Linked DNA regions of Homo sapiens: region 1 is linked to region 2. The links are contacts of gene promoters, found by promoter capture Hi-C in blood cells and fetal thymus (Javierre and others, 2016). All regions are on one chromosome and are shown on one strand. The core of a region is centred on a gene start or on the middle of the fragment in contact, and the rest is flanking DNA. Distances in the headings are between cores, read along the strand shown. Region 1 holds the start of BTN1A1 (butyrophilin subfamily 1 member A1). Region 2 has its middle 4.2 kb from the start of H3C8.

Region 1 (6,025 bases), core at 706-3,205, 230 kb before region 2:
CAGACAGCATAAAAACTATTCTATAAATTATCCAGCAAGCCTTTGTTTCCTGGCAGTCAGCTTCTCTTTTGCTGATCCTGCCTTTTGCCTCCTCGAAAAGTATTTTCATACTTTTAAAAGTAAATCTGCCTTTCTTTACAACTGTCTTGGTAAATTCTTTTACCCCCCCTCGCCTCCCGCCCAGATAGTCGTCCCTCCCCGGCGACATCAACCTAAAAGAGATTTTGAGAATGAATCTGATGGTTTCCAAAGTAACTGATCCATACGAAAGTGTATACAGCAGGGGAGTCGTCGGAGAAAGTCAAAACCCGTCTACTCACCAGCCACCTTCAGATGCACCAGGGCTTCTTCGTAGCTTCCATCCTCCCTGAAAAAGCACGTGTACTCCCCGTCGTCAGAGACTCTGACGCCACGGATCCTCAAGGCCACGCGCCCCTTGGCGATGCCGTCCTGGACCAGCGTCGCCCGCCCGCGGTACTCGGGCATCTGCTCGGCTTCCTGCTCGCGCCCGTCCCTATGCACCAGCACGGCCGGCGAAACCTTCTTTCGGAACCAGCGTAGCTCCAAGTGCTCGGCGCTCGCGTTCGGAGACAGGCGACAGGGCAGCTCGGCGTCCTCACCCACAACGGCCAGGATGGGCTCCGGGGGTCCAATCACGTCAAAGGGAGCTGCCGAAAAACGAGCGGGATCAGACGGGATGTGGAGATGGGAACTACGGACAGACACCGACCAGATTCCCGCCAAAGCGCAGTGCCCCGCGCTCTCTTACTCCTTTGACAGCTGAGTTTGTCTGGATCCAGTGGAGGTCTCCAGGGAGAGCCAAGTGGGATTGTTTATTTTACATTTATTGATATATTTCAACTATGCAGCCCAGAGAGAGAGAGAGACTTACCTGAATCCAGTTTGGGCAGCTGGAGGAGAATGAGGGTGAGCAGACATCTGGGGAGACCGGAGCTTGGGAAAACTGCCATCTCCCACCCTTCTGGAGCAGCAAGATAACTGATGTGAGTCCCCTCAGGAGCTTCAGCCTAGGAGATGAATGGACAGGAGACAACTACCGGCTCTGTCAACCCTCCGCTTTCCAAAGTCCTCTCTACAGTTCTTTCCAGCTGCAAGTGTTCTGGTCATTTGCCCCTGAAACCTCCTCTCAGCCTCCATCCCCAGTATGGATTTTTAGTTTACACTGTGGTTATCACCTTCCCACCCACTACTCTAACTCTAAAACTTAGGAGAAGGGAACTGTGAGGCATAACACTCATTAGTTGGTTGCATATCGATGAACAAATCTTGGAATCACTGCACTAAAAAAAAAGTCTCCTTTTTATTTATTTATTTATTTATTTTTGAGACAGTCTTGCTCTGTTGCCCAGCTTGGAGTGCAGTGGCATGATCTCGGCTCAATGCAACCTCAGCCTCCTGGGTTCAAGCGATTGTTCTGCCTCAGCCTCCGGAGTAGCTGGGACTACAGGCGCGCACCACCATGCCCCGCTATTTTTTGTATTTTCAGTAGAGACGGAGTTTCACCACGTTGGCCAGGCTGGCCTCGAACTCCTGACCTCGTGATCCACCCGCCTTGGCCTCCCAAAGTGCTGGGATTACAGGCGTGAGCCACCGTGCCTGGCCAAAGTCTTTTTTCAAATACAAGAATTTGGTATTTGCTTTTGGCAATGATAATAAAGATAAGGGTATAAAGGCAGAAATGGAGTCCAAGGAAATGAATTGGAGAAGAGAGAAAAGATGGGAGGAGATGGAGCAAGAAGCAGGAGCTGAAGCAAGCAAAAGGGCTTGAAGAGTAGAGGGCCTAGGACCAAGGAGAAAGGAGCTGGAGGGAGAGAAGTATGCTATGCCCCTCTGGCTGCTCACTCCCTCAGGGAGCTGAGAGTAACCACACATACTGACCTGGGTGATCTTGGAGAAAAAGGCACAAGAGGCCACTGCTACCAAGTGAGAAAGCTGGCTGTGGCCCCCGGGGCAAAAGTTAAAAGCCAGCAGGAAAAGGAAGCGGGAGGTGCTCTCAGGAAAGCCTGCCTCCAGGTGGCCTGGTATATTCACTCTGAGGAAAAAAAAAAGGGAGATGAAAAGTTTTTCAGAGAGATGGAAAACTGGATTTGTGGTCTTCAGCTCAGAAATCAAGATATGCATTGATGAGCTGGACCAAATGAAAGGCAGAAAAGAGAAAAAGAGAAGAGAGGCAAGGAAACACACAAATGAGATGTGATGGCTTCAGCCAGTTATTTCCTCTTTCCAAGCCTCAGTTCTTTGATCTCTAAAATGGTAATAATATTGATCATACCTTTCTTGAAGAGGTGTTGGGAGGATTAAGTGAGATTAAGCAGGTAAAGTGCTTAGCACATAGTAGGAACTCAGCGGAGGATAAATTGTTATTCTATTATTATTTCTGCGGGTTGAAAAATGAAAGCCCAGAGGCCAAGGTAGCAGTAGCCTCTGTCTATAGCCATCTTCGTTATTGGAGCGTCCGTCCACCTTAGGTGCTGTGTCTGTTGGAACAACTCCATTAAAGGCCAGTCTTAAGGGTAGGCTGTGAATTCTGTTTACAGGGCCCAAAAGTTGCCTCCCTGACAATTATTTCTTTTGAAGCAACTCATCATGAGGCCTACAATTCCTTAATTTATACTAAACCTACCTCTCATTGTTATGAAAAAATTTAAAAATACAGAAAAATATTTTTATAAAATGGAGGTCACACTTAATCTACTAACTAATGATAGCCTCAATTCACATTTTGGCATAGTCCTTCCAAGATTTATTTTATGCTTATGTATATCATAAAAGCAATCAATTAGACTTTTTGTGTAACTCAAAATATTGTTAATAGTTGTATAATTGCCATGATTGTGGGACATTTGGGATTTTTTTCCTATTGTAAATAATACACTTTATATATAAGTCTTTATTTGCAAATTGGATAATGTCCTGATAAACTGTTTAATAAATTTCCAGAAATAGAGTCATCAGATCAAATGGTATAAGCATATTTCTTTTCTTTTCTTTTTTTTTTTGAGACGGAATCTCACTCTGTCGCCTAGGCTGGAGTGCAGTGGCGTAATCTTGGCTCACTGCAACCTCCGCCTCCAGGGTTCAAAGGATTTTCCTCTTGCCTCAGCCTCCTGAGTAGCTGAGATTACAGGCACGTGCCACCATGCCCAACTAATTTTTGTATTTTAGTGGAGACAGGGTTTCACCATGTTGGCCAGGCTGGTCTCGAACTCCTGAGCTTCAATGATCTGCTTGCCTTGGTCTCCCAAAGTGCTGGGATTACAGGTGTGAGCCACCATGCCCGACCTAGTATCAGCATATTTCTACAGTCCCTTCCTGAAATGTTGAATCCATCACACCCTCAATGGAGGTGCCCTCACCTAATCCCTGCTAGCACTGAGAAGTTATTATTTCACATCCTTACTATTGGGATGGGTCAAGTTAATTAAATTATTATTTATTGTGCCTTTATATGTTAGCGAGGCTGGAGTTTTTTATGTGTTAATTAGACATTTAATACATTCTAGAAATGAGCTGTTCAGGCCAGTTGCCCATTGTTTTCAAGACTGGTCCTGGTGCTAGTTCTTAGCAATCTGTGTGAATTTTAATAACTTAAAAATATCAATCCTGTATTATATTTGTAACAAACATTCTTCCCAGTTTTGTTATTTATCTTTGAGTTGGAATTGTGATTAAGACAAAAGACAGTTGCTCCATTTCACCCACCAGACTGCCAAGAGAATGATCTTTCCCAAATGCAAATCTGATCATATCACTTTTTGCTTAAAAATCCTTCCACATCTCCCTAGTGACTTCAGCATCAAGTTTATGCACCTTAATCTGGTTAGGAAAATACTGTAGGTCTAGCTTGATCTGGTCAAGAAAATACTCTGGCAGTCTCCTTGCTTCTTTCCTGAGGGCTTTTTCTCCATTCCCCTTCTCCTTCCCTGCTTGTCCACCCACAGGCTGAATTTGGAGTGGGTGTGGTTACCTCAACCCACAATGCCTCTCAGGCCTCCAGATAGCAGTGCTTGCCTTCCCCCTTCCAGAATATTCTGTCTCTTCTTAACTTTTTTTTTTTTTTTTTTTTGAGATGGAGTCTCACTTTGTCACCCAGGCTGGAGGGCAGTGGCACAATTTCAGCTCACTGCAACCTCTGACTCCCAGGTTCAAGCATTTCTCCTGCCTTAGCCTCCCAAGTAGCTGGGACTACAGGCGTGCCCCACCACGCCTGGCTTTGTTGGTATTTTTGGTAGAGGTGGGGTTTCCCAATGTTGGCCAGGCTGGTTTTGAACTCCTGACCTCAAGTGATACACCCGCCTCGGTCTCCCAAAGTGCTGGGATTATAGGTGTGAGCCACCGCGACTAGCCTGTTCCCTCTTATCTTTATGATGAACTCCTATTCTTCCCTCAAAAGCTCATGTAAGGGCTGCACCTTCTGCAATGTCTTTCAGACATTGCATCAAGCAGATGCAACCTCACTTCTAGGGCTTCTCCTGATTAGCCTTTGTCCCCTCCAAGAGAAGTAGGCTTTCCTGGAAGATGGGCCAGGTGTATCCTGTGACACTTGGTCCCTTTCTCATGGCAGACACCTGATCTGAGCCCTAGTTTCAGAAGCAGATGTGTTTATTGTCATCTTTTGTTTCCAAGCTTGTCTTCCCCTCTTAAACTGAGCTTTCCTAGTTCTTACTCCCTGTCTTCTCATCAGCACATAGACTGAAATAGAATTTGTGGCTTCATTCAAACCCATCGTTCCTTAGCCTTCCTAGTTTGAAAGGCTCCTGTCCCATTTTCCTCTTCATGCTTAACTTTCTGATCATATCACCTATAATCTATTTCCCCTTCCTCATTTCACTTCTCTTATCAGCCCCTTTCAATGATACTTTTGTCTCATGCTTCATATTCTCATAAGACATTGTTTTCAGGGGGGAAAAAGAGCTTTTACTTGCAACTAACGGAGCCATACTGAAAAGAAAGGGTCTGGGGGAAAGAAGAAGAAAGTACTTGGAGCTCAAGCTATTGCATAACAGACACTATTTTGATTGGATAGCATCTGGGTCTTTTTGACAGAAACCAAGTCATCAGTCTTACACAATGAAAGACAGGATCTCTAAATTTCCCAAGGTTTAGAGAACAGAACCTCTAGGATGCCCCTAGGATGCCCCTGCCTGTCATGGTTCCTGAATGGGAGAGGCCTTGTGAAGTGGTGCTGCTCTTAGGAAGTTCCTGCTCTTCCCAGGCCCACTGCGAGATAGAAACAAAAACTTCTTCTTCTTAGACATGAAATCATTTGGGCTGAGGAATATGATATGCTTCATATGGAACCTAATGATAAAATGTCAGCATTTGTTTCCCCTCCCTGCTTTTCACTATAATCTGTTCAAATTTCTCAGTGTTATCCTCATGTCAAATTCAATGGTTACTCTCGTTCTCATCTTACTTGACTTTCATCACTGAGGCAACCATTTGAGTCTATTTATTTATTTTGAGACGGAGTCTTACTCTGTCGCCCAGGCTGGAGTGCAGTGGCACAATCTCGGCTTACTACAACCTCCTGGGTTAAAGCGATTCTCGTGCCTCAGCCTCCCAAGTAGCTGGGATTATAGACATGCACCACCATGCCTGGCTAATTTTTGTACTTTTAGTAGAGATGGGGTTTCACCGTGTTGGCCAGGCTGGTCTTGAATTCCTGACCTCAAGTGATCTGGCTGCCTTGACCTCCCAAACTGCTGGGAATACAGGTGTGAGCCACCACGCCCAGTCAACGTCTTTTCTTTTTAAATGTGGTTCAGTTGTTTTATGTGGTACTTATCTACATATTTCTCAAGACAATATCATTCTGTCAAAGTTTTTAAAAAAGCTCTTTATATGTATTACATGTATTTAAAAAAAAAACCAAATGGGACAAAGTGCTTTTAAGAAATGTCAGTTCCACTTCCCACTTCCAACCTATTACTCCTGAATCCCCAGAAACAGCTTCTTTAAGTGCTCAGTTGTTTTATCTGGTACTTATCTGCATATTTCTAGA
Region 2 (5,738 bases), core at 2,841-5,340:
TGTAACATTACAGTCACATGGGAAGGCTTTAGAAAAATCTTTACCTGGGGTTCAATGAGACTAATAGCAATCTAGAGTGGGCCCAGGGAATGGTAATTATTAAAATTCAGGTGCTTCTAACAGCTGGGGCTGAGACTCCTTGCTACATAAATTTTAATACTCTTATTAGCTCTGGTTTGACTCTAGGCTTAGCAGTTTTCTAATTGAATCAGTTTCCTTGTAGTTTGCCTTCAGAGAGAATATACTGGTCTCTAAAGACTTTCTGGCTTGCTTGACTATCTTTCAACACCTGGCTTTTATAAGAATTTCTTAGGGCAACACTAATGTAAGTTTTTTCTTTTTTGTTTTGTTTTGTTTTTTGTTTTTTTGAACCACCGAGGTCCTTTTAGTGATTGGAAGTATCAGGTTTTTAGGGATGTTACAAGGAGGAACACATACCATCCTGGGCTGCTTGGCATACAACCAAGATATGTTTTCATATAGAACCCTTCCTTTACAGATTAGCACAAGGCCCTGTTTGGGTATTCAGCAGATCCTTCTTTATGATCTTTATTAATTTAGCAACTTGTCATTTTTTTTCACATATTGCTTTTATTTTAAAAACTTATTTGACATTCCAGAATATATGGGAAAGGAGATAATAGTTTAATAAAACCTATGTTCCTCTCATCCAGCTTCAATAACAACATTGGCTAAGTGTTTTATCTATTGATTTTTGTAAAGCAAATAATGAAACTGCCTAATGGGTTCACCTTGCCCACTGCCTAGACAAAGCTGATTTATCTAGGCAGGGAATTGCAATAGAGAAAGTAATTCACGCCGAGCCAGCTGTGCGGGAGACCGTAGTTTTATTGTTACTCAAATCAGTCTCCCCAGCATTCCAGATGGGGGGGAAGCCGATGAACCAGGAGTCCTGATTGGTCAGGTCAGAGATGTCATTATAGGGAGCTGAAGGTGTCTCCTTGGGCTGAGTCAGTTTCTGGGTGGAGGCCACAAGATCGGATGAGTCAGTTTACCAATCTGGGTGGGGCCAACTGATCCATCAGGTCTGCAAAATATCTCAAGCACTGATCTTAGGAGCAGTTTACGTGGGGTCAGAATCTTGTAGGTTCCAGCTGCAGGACTCCTAAACCATAATGTGTGTGTTTTTTTTTTTCTTTGAGACAGTCTCACTGCGTTGCCCAGGATGGAGACTGTAAACTCTGCCTCCCAGGTTCGAGCGATTCTCCTGTTCAGCCTCCCAAGCAGCTGGGATTACAGGCGCGCGCCACCATGCCCAGCCAATTTTTGTAGTTTTAGTAGAGACGAGGTTTCCTCATATTGGCCAGGCTGGTCTCGAACTCTGGACCTCAAGTGATCCACCCGCTTTCGCCTCCCAAAATGTTGGGATTACAGGCGTGAGCCATTACGACCTACCCCTAAACCATAATTTCTAATCTTGTGAGTAATTTGTTAGTCCTACAAAGGCAGTCTAGTCCCCAGGCAAGGAGGTTTGTTTTGGGAAAGGGCTGTTATCATATTAGTTTTAAACTATAAACTAAGTTCCTCCCAAAGGTAGTTCAGCCTACACCCAGGAGTGAACAAGGACAGCTTGAAGGTTAGAAGCAAGATGGAGTTGGTTAGGTCAGATCTCTTTGTCTCAGTTACAATGTTGCAATGACAATTTCAATATCATTTCATCTATTTTATATATGTTATCTGCTATTTAACACCTTATTATGGACCAGGTGCCTTGGCTCACTCCTGTAATCCCAGCACTTTGGGAGGCCGATGTGGGAGGATCACATGAGGTTAATTCTTGACAAACCTGGCCAACTTGGTGAAACCCCATCTCTACTAAAAATATAAAAATTAGCTGGACCGGGCCTGGTGGTGCACGCCTGTAATCCCAGCTACTGGGGAGGCTGAGGTAGGAAAATCTCTTGAACCTGGGAGGCGGAGGTTGTAGTGAGCCAAGATCATGCCACTACACTCCAGCCTGGTGACAGAGCGAGACTCCATCTCAAAAATAAAAACAAAAATAAATTATGATGCCATCATTACTTTTATAACAAATAGTATTTCTTTTTTAAAAATTTAATATGATCCATTTTGGTTGACATATTTCTTCAACATTGATTTTTATTTACTGCAAACAACACTGGTTGAGAATTTACAATGTACCAGATGCTGGTCTGTGCATTGGAAATACACCCAGAGAACAAAACACAAAATTTTTGCTTTCATGGAATTTACATTTGAGTCTGGAATAGACAGAAAATAAACTAGATATGTTTATGTAATATGTTAGATGGTGAGAAGGAAAAAAAAATAGAGCAAGACTAAGGAGTGTCATGGGAAGCTGAAATTTAGATAAGGCAACCAATGAAGACCCCACTAAGAAGATAATATTTCAGCAAAGAGCTGAAAGGTGAGGAAGCAACCTGTGCGGATGTGTTCAGGGAGAAAAGGAGGGAGACTCCTGAGGCACCATGGTGACTATGGGGAATGAGCAGGGGACAGTAGGAAATGAAGGTGGAGAAAGGGCAGAATAATTTTCCCTTCAATTCCCACCTCACACAGGTTCTTAGTTGAAACAAACCCATGTAACAAAAGACAGATTCACAAATGAAAAACAAGCAGAAGTGTATTAACATATATATTACATATACATGAATGACACCTAGGGAATGAGTACACATTGAGGTGGCTTTGAATTCCAGCTTTTGTGTAGTGTCTTCAACAAAGAACAGTGAATTTTTAGATAATTTAGAAGACGAAGGAGAAGTACTTTGAGTGTCCAGGGGCGGCAATGTTGGGGAAAGCAAACATAGATAAAGGGTAGTTAGTAAAGCTTGCTTTATAGAATCTTCTGGTGCATCACCAGGCCCATAAGAGTGAAAGCTCTTTTCTGTACTTCTTTTGTTCTCCCCAATAGTGTAAACCAAAAAGTGACCGAGCAGATCTCCACTGATTCACAGGTTTATTTTTGCCAAGGTTGAAGATGCATCTAGGAGAAAGAAACACAAGTTACACAAAGTCTATGGCCTGTGAGGCCCAGGTGGGCAGATCACTTGAGGTCAGGAGTTCGAGACCAGTTTGGCCAACATGGCGAAACTCCATCTCTACTTAAAAAATACCAAAAAATTAGCCATGCATGGTTGCACGTACCTGTAGTCCCAGCTGCTCTGAAGGCTGAGGCATGAGAATCGTTTGTACCTGGGAGGTGGAGGTTGCAGTGAGCCGAGATCATACCACTGCCCTCCAGTCTGGGCGACAGAGTGAGACTCTGTCTCAAAAAAAAAAAAAAAAAAGAGTTTAGTATATTCTTATATAAAAAAGACGTAGAAAAGTTAAAATGGATAAAGGGAATGACTGCCAGAGGACAGGAGGGAATGTGGTAGACAGCTGTAATTTTAAAAATGGTGGATGGGGAAGAACTCACAACTGAGATAAGACTGGGAAAAGAAAATAACTTTTTTTTTTTTTTGTACAGACGAGGCTTCACTATGTTGCTCAGGCAAGTCTCAAACTCTTGTGCTCAAGGGATCCTCTCACTTTGGCCTCCAAAAGTGCTGGGGCTACCAGACCTGAGCTACCACACCAGGCCAAGAAAATAACTTTCATCTGAGGAATGGGAGTCATTTTAAATTATCAGGCCCACAGTAACATTAAAATGAGACAGCAATCACAACCTACTCCCCTCTTTGAGCTATGTATTCATCTCTAGATACTGCTTGTTATTGTTATAAGTAGCTATAAGTTTATCTAATAATGCCACATCCCACACTGTAACCCACACCCTGTAGCTTTACAATGTATAGCCAATAACTAATTAATGCTATTTCTGTAAACCAAGGAAAATTCCTGACAAAAAATTTTGTATCAGCCCACCTTCTGTCCCCCCTTTTTTGCCTTTAAAAACCTATTTTTAACAAAGGCCAGTGGAGCTCATATCCAAGATTACTTGGGCCTGAGATTTCTGAGCTGCTGTGCTGACTTTGGCTCAAGTAAATTCTTTTTTTTTTTTTTTTTTTTGAGACAGAGTCTTGCTCTGTCACCCAGGCTGGTGTGATCTTGGCTCACTGGGTTAACGCCATTCTCCTGCCTCAGCCTCCACAGTAGCTGGGACTACAGTGCCCGCCACCATGCCCGGCTAATTTTTTGGTATTTTTAGTAGAGACAGGGTTTCACCATGTTAGCCAGGATGAGTCTCCATCTCCTGACCTTGTGATCCTCCCGCCTCGGCCTCCCAAAGTGCTGGGATTACAGGCATGAGCCACCGTTCCTGGCGCCAATTCTTTTTTTTTTTTGAGACGGAGTCTTGCTCTGTCACCCAGGCTGGTGTGCAGTGGTGCGATCTCGGCTCACTGCCACCTCTGCCTCCTGGGTTCAAGTGATTCTCCTGCCTTAGCCTCCTGAGTAGCTGGGACTACAGGCGCATGCCCCCATACCTGGCTAATTTTTGTATTTTTAGTAGAGACGGGGTTTCACCATGTTGGCCAGAATGGTCTCCATCTCCTGACCTCGTGATCCACCCTCCTTGGCCTCCCAAAGTGCTGGGATTACAGGCGTTAGCCACCGCGCCCGGCCATAAATTCTTTAAGTTATGATTTGTGCCTCTGCATCTTTCTTTTAGGCCAACAAGGCTGAAGGAAATCAACTATTTCATCCCCAAGTATACTTCTTTGACATATTTTGAGATGGCTCTTTGGAGGGTCTGCAAACAGAAGTTGCCCTGCAGAGCTGCCTTTTGTGGAGATGTGCATCTGTAGAGAAAACCTGCTTTGGTGCTGCCAGGGTTTTTTTCTGAGGCTTTACCTTGTCCAATCTAGGAAAGATTAAGTGTCTGACACCAGGCTGGGCGCAGTGGCTCACGCCTGTAATCCCAGCATTTTGGGAGGCCGAGGCAGGCAGATTTGAGGTCAGGAGTTAGAGACCAGCCTGGGCCAATGTAGCGAAACCCCGTCTCTACTAAACACACAAAAATTAGCTGGGCATGGTGGTGGGCGTCTGTAATCCCCGCTAGTCAGGCGGCTGAGGCAGGAGAATTGCTTGAACCCAGGAGGCGGAGGTTGCAGTGAGCCGAGATTGTGCCATTGCACTCCAGCCTGTGCAACAGCGCGAGACTCCCTCTCAAAAAAAAAAAAAAAATCTGAGTCTGACACCTTTAAAGGTCTGAAAGAAACATTTACTATATATGTATTCTTCTTGAGGGCTGTTACCTATGAGTTTTCATCTACATAACAAGACCACCTTTGTTAGCAAAGCCCTCCCATAACCTGTCTTGCATGATTGACCACCCTAACCTGTTTTTGGCCATGCTCTGAGTCCCCATTCTTTAACCTAAAGATGGCATTTAAGCTTCTGTACCCCCTGCTGGGGTTGGGGTAATTACTCTGTGGTTCTCCCTCCTGCATGTTAATAAACTTGTGTGCCTTTCTCTCCTATTAATCTGTTTTTTGGTAATTGATTTTTGAGAAAAACTTCAGAGGGTGAAGGCGAAGATTTTTCTTGGTCCTGACAAGACTGAGCAGAGAAGAGAGTGAGTTCTTTATACAGCTGTAGGAAGATCATACCAGAGAGAAGAAACATTGATTCATGGATCCTGAGTTGGGTGCATATTTGGGCTATGGACATTGTTCTGATAGCCAACTACATAAAACCAGGGCCTTTGTTTTTCTTAAGCTGGAATTTCCAGGTAACTCAGTACTGATTTATACTTTTTTTTTTTGAGACGGAGTTTCGTTCTTGTTGCC

Evidence for each region. Contacts are between HindIII fragments. The CHiCAGO score rates a contact against its expected background, and 5 or more counts as called.
Region 1: a contact is called between the fragment with the promoter of BTN1A1 here and a fragment that was not itself captured in region 2, in 1 of 17 cell types (megakaryocytes). The highest score is 5.8, in megakaryocytes.

What each region holds. Positions count from the first base shown.
Region 1 is chr6:26,496,233-26,502,257 of GRCh38, reverse strand. BTN1A1 (butyrophilin subfamily 1 member A1) reads right to left here and starts at 1,955. Exons shown (of 8, transcript NM_001732.3): 1 at 1,900-1,955; 2 at 893-1,028; 3 at 321-668. The coding sequence starts at 971. All of the region lies in intron 1 of LOC107986583 (a long non-coding RNA gene), which reads left to right. RefSeq lists an enhancer at 537-666. The HindIII fragment of the contact is 5,298 bases long and covers 1-4,649 here.
Region 2 is chr6:26,264,336-26,270,073 of GRCh38, reverse strand. No RefSeq gene overlaps it. Among named protein-coding and RNA genes, the nearest start is that of H3C8, 4.2 kb to the left of the region's middle. RefSeq lists an enhancer at 533-1,129. The HindIII fragment of the contact is 2,510 bases long and covers 2,836-5,345 here.